Regions from separate parts of the Homo sapiens genome. Here region 2 is linked to region 1. The links are contacts of gene promoters, found by promoter capture Hi-C in blood cells and fetal thymus (Javierre and others, 2016). All regions are on one chromosome and are shown on one strand. Each heading gives the region's core, a stretch centred on a gene start or on the middle of the fragment in contact. The rest is flanking DNA. Distances are from core to core; before and after follow the strand shown.

Region 1 (4,780 bases), core at 2,173-4,672:
TGCCCTTCAATTTTCGTGTCTCTAACTGGGATGTCCTCCATAATCACTAAGGCTCCTTACTGTTCTAAATGTGACAAGCGGTATTTAAAGGGAAGAGTTCTGGTTACATAGTGTAACACCTAACACAGTGTCTCTACCAGGACTTGTACAGTGCAAACAAAGCTTTAGGTAGGATGGTCAGGGATGATGTCTCTGAGTAGGGGAGATATGAGTATATGAGAAGGAGTTTGCCAACCTAAGGGGAAGAGCATTCCAAGATGAAAGAACGCCAAGATCAATAAATAGTCTGGAGGTGGCTATCAGTTTGTAACTTTTGGTTTAGATAATTCTTTATCCATTATGTAGTTGTTACCGTACTATGTTAACATCTCGGGCTGGGTGCAGTGGCTCACACCTGTAATCCCAGTACTTTGGGAGGCTGAGGTCGACGGATCACCTGAGGTCAGGAGTTGGAGACCAGCCTGGCCGACATGGTGAAACCTCGTCTCTACTAAAAATACAAAAATTAGCTGGGCGTGGTGGCGTATGCCTGTAATCTCAGATACTCAGGAGGCTGAGGCAGGAGAATCGCTTGAACCCGGGAGGCAGAGGTCGCAGTGAGCTGAGATCACACCACTGCACTCTAGCCTGGATGACAGAACAAGACTCCTGGCTCAAAAAAAAAAAAAAGTCTCTAGGCTACTTGTCTGTGTCATACTCTGTTTAAAGGCAGAGATGTGTCTTATTCAGTTTCCCAAGCACAGGGACTAGCGCAATACCTAGTACATAATAAATACTTGATAATTGTTTCTAATTGACTTATTATGTTTAAAGATAAGCTCCACAAGGGCACGGATTTTGTGTGTGCATGTTTTTTTCCCCATACAACCCCCAGGGCCCAAAACAGTGCCTGGGATAAAGAACGTACTCAAGGAATGTTTCTGATAGTAAGCATCAAAAGCTTATAAAGATACTTGTTTAATACAATCAGCCCAAAAATTAAAATAGACTATAGAAAAAACATCCATCATGCTGTCCTCTCAGTGCCTTTACACATACTGTTGTCTCTGTCTGGAATGCCCTCTCCATACATCACACACTGTATCTTTTTTTTTTTTGCAAAGGGTCTCACTGTCACCCAGGCTGGAGTGCAGTGGCACCATCATAGCTCACTGCAGCTTTGACCCAGGCTCAAGCGATTCTCCAGCCTTAGCCCCCCGAGTAGGTGGGACTATAGGCTCTCGCCACCATGCCCAGCTAATTTTTGTATTTTTGGTAGAGACAGGGCTTCACCATGGTGCCCAGGCTGACCCTGAACTCCTGGGCTCAAGTGATCTGCTGGCCTCAGCCTCCCAAAGTGCGAGGATTACAGGCTTAAGCCACCACACCTGGCCACATCACACTGTATCTTAATTGACAGGTCATCTATTTGTCTTCCCCAAAAGACTACAGACTCTGGGTAAGTTAAAGGCCATAGGTATCTTAGTTACATGTACATGTTTTTACCCAGAATAAGTCAACAGCTTAGAACAATGTGTTTGTTAAAGACTGAGGCCACACAACACCTCCACAGACTCTAGTGTTTCCACACTTCTTCTTTTTTTTTTTTGCGACAGTACCTCTGTCACCCAGGCTGGAGTGCAGTGGCACGATCACCACTCACCACAGCCTCAACCTCCTGGGTTCAGGTAATCCTCCCACTTCAGCTTCCCGAGAAGCTGGGACTAGAGGTACCTGCCACCAGGCCTGGCTAATTTTTGCATTTTTTTGTAGAGACAGAGTTTCGCCGTGTTGCCAAGGCTGGTCCCAAACTCCTGGGCTCAGGCGATCCGTCCACCTCCATCTCCCAAAGTGATAGGATTACAGACGTGAGCCACCACGCCTGGCTATGTTTCCCACACATATGTTATTTGATCCATATCTTCACCATTCTCACTGTATTTGAATGTTCCTAACATTCCCTTAATATTTGTTTACAAGAAAAAATTTTATCCCTACTGTAAACTGAAAACCACTTATATTTGACATAACGTGAAATTAGACATAAAATTATATAAAATCTTTAAATGTTCTATTTTTAGCTAAATACAGGTGCCTATTAAAAGCTCTGAGACTAAGAACTGCTCTCTGAAAAGACCTGGGGATTAAAGAAGTGCTGAAGATACACACTAGCACCGAGCACAACTTCTCCTAAATGCGAAGTTGAGAACTGAAAGAGAAATGAAAAGGGAACAATTTCCCTAACACATTATCTGATGCTCCTTAATGTGGGGTCCATGTACCACCTACCACCTAAAAGCACCTTAAATACCAAAAGTCCATGTCCCAAGTTCTGAGAAACAGTAATTAATGAGACCCCACTTTACCCTCCTGGGAGCGAGACAGGGCCGGATTCTGGAGTTGAGACAAAACTGGATTTATATTTTTTTGCGGGGCAAAGAACTTAATTAACCTTTCTGTATCTCGTTTTCTGTAAAATGAGAAAAATGAGATCTCTCTCACAGGGTTGTTGTAGAAATAAGCGAGGCGTTTCATCTGCTGCCTGGGGCTTAAGTATACAATAAATATTAACAACTACCATTATTTCCCTTTCAAAACAACAACAAAAAAGAACGTGAAGCCAGACAGCAGAAATGAGTTGCGTGGGGTCTCAGGGTTCCCAGTACACACACCCGCCGGCTCACTCCCTCAGGACCCAATCTCCCGCCTTCCACGAACTCCTACTTTTCTCTCCTTGTCCCCGCAGATCCTCACCTTCCCGCTGCCCGCGGGGCCCATGACCAGCTGCGCATACCGAGGCATGTTGGCTCCCGGAGCCGCCCGCCACACTCCCTTAGCCTTCGCGCGACGCCCACTGAGCTCCGGGAAAGTGAAGTGCGAACCAATCGCAATCCACATTCTTTCTACGCCTCCAGTTCTACCACACCTCCTACTACGGGGCAGCCCGCGGGCCAAATCCCGTGAGAAACGCGTCCTGAGAAAAAAGGGGAGGGGCGAGGGAGAGGATTTGCGCGTGCGCAAAAGTAGTTGATGGAAATCGGCCGTTGGGATGCTGTCTAAGCTTGGATACCTGAGTAATAACGGACAACAGATAAAGCTCCGCATCCTTGCGCCACGTGCTTCGGTCCGTGGTTTGCGTGCAGACGTTTGACCTGTATGGTGACCCTCGCGATTTGCAAATGTGCTGAGGATCTGGAATACTGAAGTGGAAGGCACCTCTTGTTTTGGGGAGCATGTATATTTCCCTCCTGTGACGCACTGCTTCCACAGAGAGGTGCAAACGTGCAAACGCTCAGCGACCGCAGCGCTCCTGCCCCTCCCCCACCGTAACTCCGGGGTCGCGGATCTGCCCGCCCCGCTCTCCCGAAGCTGTTCGGGCAGTGTCCGAACGGCTTCGGAGGGGCGAGAAGCCAGCATCCGAGCCGCCTCTCCGGAATACCAGCAGCCTGACGCACGCGTGCTGTCGGGGGAGGGATGCTGGGACAGCTGCTCCCGCACACGGCTCGCGGTCTCGGCGCCGCGGAGATGCCCGGCCAGGGTCCGGGGTCCGACTGGACGGAGCGTAGCTCTTCTGCAGAGCCGCCCGCTGTGGCCGGGACCGAGGGTGGCGGCGGCGGGTGAGGTTGGGGGCCCCGGGGTAAGGGTGGCAGCATGGGGCCCCCGGGTCGTGAGGCCCCCGGGTCGTGAGCCCCGTGGAGGAGGGCTGCGGCCGACCTCTCGTCTCGGGGGCTGGCCCCGGTGCCCTCAAGTGAGAGGCGGGGAGCAGTTTTGTTGTGGACAGAGGGCAGAGGGGAGGACTGCCTCGCGGTTGAGGGAGGGTCTCTGAGGGAAGCTTCGGAGGAGCGTTTGGTGCAGTGGCCACGAGGTGACTGCGACAGTCGCCCGCGTGCATCTCTCTGCCCCGAGGGGGCGCTGCGAGCCCTGCTGGGACGTTTGCTGTCTGGCACAGGACTGTGTGTCCACCGAAAGGCGAGGCGGGAGGGACAGAGGAGGAAGATGTCCCCCGGTTCAACTGGGGGCATCCAGGCCCATAAACCAGTTCCTTCCCTCTAGTGACATGAGCCACCTTCCTGTCAAACGGGGATTTCTTTTTCTTTTTTTTTCTTTTCTTTCTTGTTTTTTGAGAGCGAGACAGTCTCGCTCTGTTGCCTAGGCTGGAATGCGGTGGTGCGATCTCAGCTCACTGCAACCTCAGCCTCCCAGGTTCAAGTGATTCTCCTGCCTCAGCCTCCCGAGTAGCTGGGATTACAGGCGCCTGCCACCACGCCCGGCTAATTTTTGTATTTTTAGTAGAGAGGTGGTTTCACCATGTTGGCTAGGCTTGTGTCGAACCCCTGACCTCAAGTGAGCCGCCCGCCTCGGCCTCCCAAATTGCTGGGATTACGGGGTGAACCATTGCGCCCGACCTCAAACGAGGATTTCTAATCGCCAATGAGACCAATGACTGAATATCCGAGGTGCCTTGATCTTGACATTTTCTTCACACTGAAGTTCCTTTTTTCACAAATCTATTTCGTTTTGAGCAGGTTTTTACACCTATTTCCTAGATAGTGAAGACAGCGAGCTGTTGAAGTCACTGCTGGAGACTCTACCTCCTCTTCCTCTCCCTACTTTATTCCCTAAAAGCAAGAACTGCGATATGTTTGCCGTTCAGTACAACCCGCAGTCAGGGCCCCTGTTGCACCCATGGCCATCCTTTTTGTTTTTTTTTTTTTGAGACAGAGTCTCGTTCTGTTGCCCAGGCTGGAGTGCAGTGGTGCCATCTCAGCTCACTGCAAGCTCCGCCTCCCGGGTTCACGCC
Region 2 (4,570 bases), core at 223-2,722, 410 kb after region 1:
GAAGGTGCCCAAGTCTCCTTGTGGTTGTCAAATTTAGCAAATAAAGATATAAGATGCCTAGTTAAGGTTGTGCATGGTGGCTCACGCCTGTAATCCCAGCACTTTGGGAGGCCAAGGCAGGCTGATCATTTGAGGTCAGGAATTTGAGAACAGCCTGACCAACATGGTGAAACCCCGTCTCTACTAAAAATACAAAAAAATTAGCTGGACATAGTGGTGAGTGCCTGTAATCCCAGCTACTTGGGAAGCTGAGGCAGGAGAATCACTTGAACCCAGGAGGCAGAGGTTGCAATGAGCCAAGATCATGCCACTGCACTCCAGCCTGGGCAACAGAATAAGACTCTCAAAAAAAAAATGCCTAGTTAAATTTAAATATCAAATAAACAATAAATAAATGTTTAGGATAACTATGTCTCATGCAGCATTTGGGACATACTTATGATAAAACTTTTTTGTTTATCTATAATTGGGACATATTTATACTTAAAAATATATTTGTCTGAAATTCAAATTTAACTGAGAACCCTCTATTTTATCTGCCAACCCTAATTTACAGCATGTGTCTTCATCTGGGACTCTCTTTCTATTATTTAGAAGGAGACTTATTGTCAGGGGTCCCCAGGTTCATCTCTAGGTTTGATGATTCACTAGCATATCTCGCAGGACTCAGCACTGAGGCACATTCATGGCTGTGATGCATTACAGTGAAAAGGCACCAAGCAAGATCAGCACAGGGAGAAGGTGTGTGGTCCGGCGTCTGGAGGAAACTGGGCGCAAGCTTCCAAGTACAGTCACACTGAGCACACATGGTTCTTTCAGGATCTGTGACCACACATCATGTCAAGAGTTATCTACTAGGCTGGGCATGGTGGCTCATGCCTGTAATCTCAGTGCTTTGGGAGGCCAAGGCGGGAGGATCACTTGAGGCCAGGAGTTTGAGACTGGCCTGGGCAAATGAGCAAGACCCCATCTCTACAATGAATAAAAAAAAATTAGTTGGGCATAGTGGTACATGCCTGTGGTCCCAGCTACTCTGGAGACTGAGATGGGAGGATGGCTTGATCTCAGAAGGTCTGATGGTGACAAGGTGCTGAGGGGTAGAAAAAAGCAGATCCTAAGTCCAGGAGTTTGAGGCTGCAGCAAGCTATGATTGCGCCACTCCAGCCTGGGTGACAGAGTGAGACCCTGTCTCTTAAAAAAAAAAAGGTTATCTCATAGTGGGGTATACTAGAGATTCAGTACCCCAAATTCTTACTGGGGGCTGGTCGTGTAGACACCCTCTGCCTAGCACATACCAAAATTCTAGACACTCAGAGGAAAAGCAGGTGTTTGGGATAAACTGCTGGGCATGGTGGCACTTGCCTGTGGTCTCAGCTACTGGGGAGTCTGAGGTGGGAGGATCGCCTGAGCCTCCCCAGAACAGTGGGGAGCCACAACCTGTAAAAAGGTCACATGGTCAGGTGTGCCTAAACGATCCTTTTATTTATTTATTTATTTATTTTTAAGAAACAGGGTCTAGTTCTTTCTCCCAGGCTGGAGTGCAGTGGTGTGACAGTCACAGCTCACTTCAGCCTTGACCTCTTAGGCCCAAGCCATCCTCCCACTTTGCCCTCCCGAGTAGCTAGGACCACAGGCATTCAACACGACACTTGGCTAATTTTAAATTTTTTTTTTTTTTTTTTTAAGACGGAGTCTTGCTCTGTCACCCAGGCTGGAGTGCAGTGGCGCAATCTCGGCTCACTGCAACCTCCACCTCCTGGGTTCAAGTGATTCTCCTGCCTCAGCCTCCTGAGTAGCTGGGACTACAGGCACATGCCACCACACCCAGCTAATTTTTGTATTTTTAGAAGAGACGGGGTTTCACCATGTTGGCCAGGATGGTCTCAGTCTCTTGACCTCGTGATCCACCTGCCTTGGCCTCCCAAAGTGCTGGGATTACAGGCGGGAGCCACTGCACCCGGCCTAATTTTAAAAATTTTTTGTAGAGGTGGGGTCTTGCTATGTTGTCCATGCTGGTCTTGAACTCCAGGGCTCAACCCCTGTGCTGGGATTACAGGTGTGAGCTACCATGCCCGGCCAGGGCAGGGATTTTGTATCAGCAGTGCCTAGCACAGTGTGTGACTCATAGTAAATGCTTCTTGAGATATTTGTGAAATGAATGATGGGTGAAGCTTCTGCTCTATCTCCTGGAAACATCTAGCCTCATCCCTAAAGCATACTACTATATATATATTTTTTTGTTTGTTTGTTTGTTTTTTGTTTGCTTGTTTGTTTGTTTGTTTTTTGAGATGGAGTCTTGCTCCATCGCCCAGGCTGGAGTGCAGTGGCGCAAACTTGGCTCACTGCAACCTCTGCCTCCCAGGTTCAAGCAATTCTCCTGGCTTAGCCTCCCATGTAGCTGGGATTGCAGGCATGTGCCACCACACCTGGCTAATTTTTGCATTTTTAGTAGAGACGGGGTTTCGCCATGTTGGCTAGGCTGGTCTCGAACTCCTGACCTCAGGTGATCTGCCTGCCTCGGCTTCCCAAAGTGTTGGGATTACAGGCGTGAGTCACCATGCCTGGCCACAATAATATTGATCACGTTACTGTCTGCCTGGCACGGATCTGAGGAGCTTCCTTTTGAGTGTCACAGTGGCTGATTTTTCCTTTCCTAGCTCTCAAGGCAAAGAAGCATGTCAAGAAGAACAGGGGAGAGAGTTTTGAGAGCTATGAGGTGGCCCACCTCCGGCTGCTGAAGCTGGCTGAGAGTGGGAACCTAAACCAGCTCATTGAAGATTTTCTGGCCAAGGAGGAGAAGAATTTTGCTCGGTTCACGTATGTCACGGAGCTCAACAACGACATGGAGATGATGCACAAGAGGACCCAACGAATCCAGGTCAGGGCGGCTCTGCTTTCCCAGGCCCTGGGCCCCTGTGTCCACAGCAGCCTTTCCAGGGCAGTCTCCTAGGAAGGCTCTGTGAGAGGCACTACAGAAAGCAGTTTGGCCAACACCGCTCTATTCCCCTTACATTTTATGTTTGAGACAGGATCTTACTCTGTCACCCAGGCTGGAGTGCAGTAGTAGTGCGATATTGGCTCACTGCAGTCTCAACCTCCCAGGCTGAAATGATCCTTGCATCTCAGCCTCCTGAGTAGCTTGGACTACAGGTGTGCACCACCATGCCTGGCTAATTTTTGTATTTTTTGTAGAGTTGGGATTTTGCCATGCAAGGCTGGTCTCGAACTCCTGACCTCAAGCAATCCTCCCACCTTGGACTCCCAAAGTACTGAGATTACAAGTGTGAAACGTTGCACCCAGTGTCCCCTTACTTTTTATTTGTATTTTTTTTGAGACGGAGTCTTGCTCTGTCATCCAGGCTGGAGTGCAGTGGCATGATCTTGGTTCACTGCAACCTCCACCTCCCCGGTTCAAGAGATTCTCCTGCCTCAGCCTCTGGAGTAGCTGGGACTACAGGTGCCCGCCACGACGCCCTGCTATTTTTTTTTTTTTTTTTTGTATTTTTAGTAGAGATGGGGTTTCATCATGTTGGCCAGGCTTGTCTCAAACTCCTGGCCTCAAGTGATCCACCTGCCTCAGCCTCCCAAAGTGCTGGGATTATATAGATGTGAGCCACCACACCTGGCCTGTAATTGTCTTTCAATGTATAGATACATTTCATGTATTCATGTCCCCCAACCCAATAGTGACTTTATAATCCATGGCATGTTTTATTAACCAGCATTCAGTAAACTACAGTCCATGGCTATTTCTGTGTAGCCCATGAGCTAAGAATGATTTTTACATTTTTAAAGGATTGTAAGAAGAAAAAAAAAAAAGAGAGAGAGAGAAATATGCAAGAGGGACCTGCAAAGCTGAAAGTATTTCTTATTTGGCCCCTTACCTGACCCTTGTTAATCAACAGTTTCGAGGAGTGAGAACTCATTCTCATCTTGGCGAGACTTGATGCACAGGCCCTGACAAGTCCTGCAGTAAAGAAGCCTGTCTACCTTTGTTGAACCCATAATTTCCCAAATGTCATTGGCTTCCTGGGCTATTTACACACCAGTACATAAATAAACATCCTTTGGAACTGTCTGCATGGAATAGAGTCTAAACCCTTTAGTGTGACATTCCAGCCCCTTCAAAATTTGGCTTCTACCTGCCTTTGCAGACACAGGTCCTGTTATGACCTCCAAGACACCCTCTGCTGCTGCCAGCCCCAGCTGTCCCATGCATTTCCCTCCGCCACTGCCTTCCCGTGCTATTCCCTCTCCCTCCCCTCCTTTTCTCTTCTGATGAAATCCTGCTCATTAGTCCTGACCCTGCACAAATGTCGCCTCCTCTGGGAATTCATTAGTCCTTCTTCTGCAGGCCCTGTCCTCTGCTTACATGATGAGGGGAGCTGCTTTCCTTTGCAATATGTCACTGTTTCCCAAATGTGGGGCATGCACGCTGGCCATGTGCAAACAGATTGCAGCTAGAATATAGGTGAAAACATTTTCATTTACTAGTGATGAATTAATTTTTAAAGGAATAATAGAGCTTGCAGAGCAAACTTGTGATTTAATGGATATTTACTTAGGGTAG

Evidence for each region. Contacts are between HindIII fragments. The CHiCAGO score rates a contact against its expected background, and 5 or more counts as called.
Region 2: a contact is called between a fragment that was not itself captured here and the fragment with the promoter of FAM216A in region 1, in 2 of 17 cell types (naive B cells and total B cells). The highest score is 5.6, in naive B cells.

Annotation. Positions count from the first base shown.
Region 1 is chr12:110,465,423-110,470,202 of GRCh38, forward strand. FAM216A (family with sequence similarity 216 member A) reads left to right here and starts at 3,423. Exons shown (of 7, transcript NM_013300.3): 1 at 3,423-3,596. The coding sequence starts at 3,454. GPN3 (GPN-loop GTPase 3) reads right to left here and starts at 2,835. Exons shown (of 8, transcript NM_016301.4): 1 at 2,734-2,835. The coding sequence starts at 2,781. RefSeq lists enhancers at 2,947-3,076, 3,997-4,166 and a silencer at 3,487-3,796. The HindIII fragment of the contact is 771 bases long and covers 3,039-3,809 here.
Region 2 is chr12:110,881,373-110,885,942 of GRCh38, forward strand. CCDC63 (coiled-coil domain containing 63) reads left to right here. Exons shown (of 12, transcript NM_152591.3): 8 at 2,658-2,878. Among named protein-coding and RNA genes, the nearest start is that of CCDC63, 37 kb to the left of the region's middle. The HindIII fragment of the contact is 1,393 bases long and covers 777-2,169 here.